Regions from separate parts of the Homo sapiens genome. Here region 1 is linked to region 2. Evidence: promoter capture Hi-C in human tissues and cell types (Jung and others, 2019). All regions are on one chromosome and are shown on one strand. Each heading gives the region's core, a stretch centred on a gene start or on the middle of the fragment in contact. The rest is flanking DNA. Distances are from core to core; before and after follow the strand shown.

What was found. Contacts are between HindIII fragments. The study calls those that stand out against the background at their distance.
Region 1: a fragment that was not itself captured here is called in contact with the fragment with the promoter of KCNH1 in region 2 in 1 of the 25 tissues and cell types used here (hippocampus).

What each region holds. Positions count from the first base shown.
Region 1 is chr1:210,966,547-210,969,246 of GRCh38, forward strand. All of the region lies in intron 6 of KCNH1 (potassium voltage-gated channel subfamily H member 1), which reads right to left. Among named protein-coding and RNA genes, the nearest start is that of KCNH1-IT1, 170 kb to the right of the region's middle. The HindIII fragment of the contact is 3,496 bases long and covers 1-2,700 here.
Region 2 is chr1:211,132,832-211,135,531 of GRCh38, forward strand. KCNH1 (potassium voltage-gated channel subfamily H member 1) reads right to left here and starts at 1,317. Exons shown (of 11, transcript NM_172362.3): 1 at 1,036-1,317. The coding sequence starts at 1,114. It overlaps KCNH1-IT1 (KCNH1 intronic transcript 1), which reads right to left and starts at 543. Exons shown (of 2, transcript NR_046784.1): 1 at 357-543; 2 at 1-195. RefSeq lists silencers at 534-724, 1,219-1,498. The HindIII fragment of the contact is 15,184 bases long and covers 1-2,700 here.

The sequences.
Region 1 (2,700 bases), core at 122-2,621, 170 kb before region 2:
AAGTGGGCAAAGGATATGAACAGACACTTCTCAAAAGAAGACATTTATGCAGCCAACAGACACATGAAAAAATGCTCATCATCACTGGTCATCAGACAAATGCAAATCAAAACCACGAGATACCATCTCACGCCACTTAGAATGGCAATCATTAAAAAGACAGGAAACAACAGATGCTGGAGAGGAGGCAGAGAAATAGGAACGCTTTTACACTGTTGGTGGGAGTGTAAATTAGTTCAACCATTGTGGAAGACAGTGTGGCAATTTCTCAGGGATCTCAAACTAGAAATACCATTTGACCCAGCAATTCCATTAATGGGTACATACCCAAAGGATTATAAATCATTCTACTATAAAGACACATGCACATGTATGTTTATTGTGGCACTGTTCACAATAGCAAAGACTTGGAACCAACGAAATGCCCATCAATGATAGACTGGATAAAGAAAATATGGCTTATATACACCATGGAATATTATGCAGCCATAAAAAACGATTGAGTTCATGTCAAACTAACACAAGAACAGGAAACCACACACCACATGTTCTCACTCATAAGTGGGAGTTGAACAATGAGAACACATGGACACAGGGAGGGGAACATCACACACTAGGGACTGTCAGGGGTTGGGGGGCTAGGGGAGGGATAGCATTAGGAGGAATACATAATGTAGATCATGGGCTGATGGGTGCAGCAAGCCACCATGGCATGTGTATACCTATGCAACAAAGCTGCATGTTCTGCACATGTACCCCAGAACTTAAAGTAAAATAAAGTAAAATACAATCAAATTGTAAAAAAATAGTAAAAAGATACCCTCTGCTATGCAAAGGATATAAGGGGTTTTCCTAAAAGTTTGAAAGTTTTGCCTTTCACACTTAAGACAAATGACTTAAGCTTTTATTTTATCTGAAGCTTCTTGTTTACATGTGATATGAGGGAGAAAAAAAATCACTTTATCTCTACAAATAATCAAATATCCCAGAACCAGTTATTGAGTGGTCCTTCCTTACCCTAGTGACCTGTGATGCTACCTTTATTCTTCATATTTCCTGATATACGGATCTGTTTCTCTTCAGTTCCATCTGTCAATTTGTCTATCCTGAATCAATACCATATTGTCCCAATTATTAGGTTATAAGAAGTCTTAATTTCTGTCAGAGAATATCCTTTCACTTAATTTTTCTTCATTCGTTTCTTCCTTCGCAATCCTTACAACTATTTCTTTTTTCTCTCTTACTGTATTGGTTAGGAATTTGAACAAAATATTGACTTGAAGCTATGACAGTGAACATTGTCTTGTTCTCAATTTTTTTTTCTTTTTTTTTTATTATACTTTAAGTTTTAGGGTACATGTGCACATTGTGCAGGTTAGTTACATATGTATACATGTGCCATGCTGGTGCACTGCACCCACTAACTCGTCATCTAGCATTAGATATATCTCCCGATGCTATCCCCGCCCCCTCCCACCACCCCACAACAGTCCCCAGAGTGTGATATTCCCCTTCCTGTGACCATGTGATCTCACTGTTCAGTTCCCACCTATGAGTGAGAATATGCGGTGTTTGGTTTTTTGTTCTTGCGATAGTTTACTGAGAATGATGATTTCCAATTTCATCCATGTCCCTACAAAGGACATGAACTCATCATTTTTTATGGCTGCATAGTATTCCATGGTGTATATGTGCCACATTTTCTTAATCCAGTCTATCATTGTTGGACATCTGGGTTGGTTCCAAGTCTTTGCTATTGTGAATAATGCCGCAATAAACATACGTGTGCATGTGTCTTTATAGCAGCATGATTTATAATCCTTTGGGTATATACCCAGTAATGGGATGGCTGGGTCAAATGGTATTTCTAGTTCTAGATCCCTGAGGAATCGCCACACTGACTTCCACAATGGTTGAACTAGTTTACAGTCCCACCAACAGTGTAAAAGTGTTCCTATTTCTCCACATCCTCTCCAGCACCTGTTGTTTCCTGACTTTTTAATGATTGCCATTCTAACTGATGTGAGATGGTATCTCATTGTGGTTTTGATTTGCATTTCTCTGATGGCCAGTGATGATGAGCATTTTTTCATGTGTTTTTTGGCTGCATAAATGTCTTGTTTAGAGAAGTGTCTGTTCATGTCCTTCGCCCACTTTTTGATGGGGTTGTTTGTTTTTTTCTTGTAAATTTGTTTGTGTTCATTGTAGATTCTGGATATTAGCCCTTTGTCAGACGAGTAGGTTGCAAAAATTTTCTCCCATTTTGTAGGTTGCCTGTTCACTCTGATGGTAGTTTCTTGTCTTGTTCTCAATTTTAAATAAAATGTTCTTAAAATATCCCCCCATTACAATGATGTTTTCAGAAGATTTTTAGTAGATATTCCTTATCAAATTAAGGACATCCCTTTTTATTCCTAATTTGCTAAGAGCTTTTATCAGGAAATGTTTTTGACTTTTTGCCTTCTCTGCATCTTTAATTATACGGATTATTTCCTTTCATCTGTTAATGTAATAAATCAGATTTATAAATTTTCTAATATTAAACCACCTGTATATTCTTGGAATAAATTCAACTTTATTATGACACATTACCTTTTCTGTACATTATGAATTCTTATTTACTCTTTTTTGGTTATAAATTTTTCATCCATCCTCATGAGTGAGGTTAACCTATAATTTTACTTTTCTACACCATGCTTA
Region 2 (2,700 bases), core at 67-2,566:
TATGCTTGGCTATCTTTCAATATAGCCATTTGATGAACTCGTGCGCTGCGCCTTCCAACTGCCAGGACTCCTAGTCGCTCTGCAAGTGCTTAGTTGGGGTCTCTCCTCTGTTAAGTCCGAAAGGCGTTTGGAATTCTTCCTTTCCATCCCCGCTCCTAGGACTCTCGCCTCTCAAGGCTTCATGCTACCGTCGATCTTAATGCCACAAGGAAACAGATGAGTGCTGATTGTCAGTTTATTGGGTAATGGATCTATTTATAGGTTTGGTGAGATTGGGAATTTATAGGTGAGCAACACTTAAGGGTGGCATAAAACCGTTGTGGGTTTGGAAGAGGGGAAATATAACAGGTTTGTACCTGTGACCATTTAGTTCGCTCTGCACCTGTGCCCTCCACTTCCCACCTGACGCCAGGAAAACCATCTGCCCCTCACTTCGAAGGTGAGCCTTAACTTCACCTAGAAAGTGGTGGGTGGGTGAAGGGGTGGAATCAGGCCGCCGAGAGCACGTCCCGACACCTCGGACTTTTCAGTTGCAGGGATGGAAGGTGGAGGCAGCCGGATCCTCCCATTCTGAGGCAGCGGGGACCTGGAGTTGCCCGTCTCTACTGCTGGCTCTCCCTGGGGAGAGGCGGCGCCTCTGGGAGCAGCCCGGGAGCCCCAGAGCCTTCGCGGAAGGGTGGGCAGTGCCGATGGGGCGCGCGCTGCCGCTCCGGCTGCAGCCAGCTTTCCATCACTTTTCCCAGTACTTTGCTCAGCAGCTGTCACGCATCCTTGGAGATAAGACCGAGAGGGCGCTAGAAAGGCCCAAAAGGCGTCCCCAGAAGAGCTCTCCTGTTAGGATGGGGACCCATCAGACCCCGCCCCGCCCTGCCCACCTTTCTCTGCCTCGGGGAGGCTGCCCTGGGTGCCCGCGCCGCGGCTCCTTAGCAGAGCTCGCGGGTTCTGCTGCATCTGCTGGCTCCGAGCGGCGAGAGGTTCTGCAATAAAGGCACGGATAAAACGCCCGGGTAATCGAAATCCGAATGCACCTCTTACCATTGGACCGCCGAACAATATTCTCCAGAAACGTGTTTTGAGGGGCCACTAGTCCCCTCCTGCCCCCAGCCATGGTCATCCTCCCAGCAGCTCGGGGTCCGGCGGGCGTCCTGGCGCGGCTTCTTACGACAGCAGGAAACTGGCCTCGGGGCCCGCACGCAGTCCCGGCTCGAAGCGCCCCATGCGCCCGGCGGGGATCCGCAGGCAGGGCTGGCGGCTCCCTCTGGCTGCTACCCTCGCGCCCTCTTCGCGCCTCCCTCCCTGCGGCCCGCCTCGCAGTGCACTCGCGCCGGCCTCGGCTAGCGGCAGCCGCCTCCGGGTGGGCGGAGGGAGCAGCGGCGCCTGGGCCGGCGGCGCCCCCTACCGGGCTCGTGCCCCACCGCCGGCCTGCGGGAGACCAAGCTGGGGGGCTCCCGCAGAGGCAGGGAAGTGGCGGGCGGCCGTGGACCAAGGCTGGGACGGCAGCGCCACCCTCTGGGTTCAGCCGGGAAATGTGTTCAGGATGTGCCATGGGCTGGGTGGAGAGGAGGGCATTGTGAGCAGCTTTCAGGGCGGATTCACCCCCAACAAGTCTTAGGGGAGCGTGCTGATGTAACTCTCTTCCTTTGCTCTGTTTCAGGCCGGGGCCCCCGGGACCTGTGAGGCTCTGGGAACACCTTCTTGCCTTCCTGTAAGGTTAGCCTGACTAGTGAAAGTTGCCCCACCTTGATTCTAGGCCAGTGTTTGAGCAGTAATTAATGAAGTCGTATTGCAATAGTGCAGATTTAGAGTGACTGGCAGATTCAGCTTCAGAAGAGTTGTCTTGGGTTGTTTTTACCGTAGACACAAATGCAGGCTCCTGATGTTTGGTATGATCAGTATCAAACTGCCTGACAAACATCAAAGGGGTGGACTTGTCTCTAAGGGCGAATGCTCAGGAGAGGGGCAGCATTAATTAAGCAACCGTGGCTTTGGCTTGAAGGGTAGTCTGTAGTGCAGAGGATACAGTTAGTTTTTACAGCTGACCCCTGGTATACGGAAGAACCACATACACCCAAGGTTTCTGGACAGGGGCTAAGACAACGGTCGTTTGTTCACTTATTTTGGGGGATTTCGACCCACACATAGTCTGTACCTGCCTTTTTACTATGTATCCCCAGTCGGTGCGGTGGGAGACTAAGCCTATGTCCCACAGGAGAAATGAATGGAGAGTTTACTAGTTTCAGACTGAGTCAACAGTCAACACAAAAATGTAAGAGAAAAAAAAACTAACCCTGAAAATTAATTGTCTGGGTTAGCCATCCTGACATATCCTAATGTATTGCAAAGACATCCTGTCTCAGTTAATTAATTTCAAAAACAGAAGAACTAATTCTTGCCCAGAAATCTCTCAGAGTTGCTGTGAAGATCAAGCAAGAATTATGTATGGGGACAGCACCTTAAATTGTAAAGTGCTGTGCCAAGGTCAGACGTCATTATTGGAGTGACTAAATAAATTGGGCCATTACGAATATCACCCTTTATCTCGTCTTGTGTAGAGACAAAGTAAACAGATTGCTGTTAGCAGAGAGTTGGATAAGACTGTCATAGGATTTGAAATGCAAGTAATGATACACTTTTTCCTTAAGATAGCCTTCTACCCATCGCCTGTTACCTAGTCTAGAACAGTGATTTCTTAAACCCTAG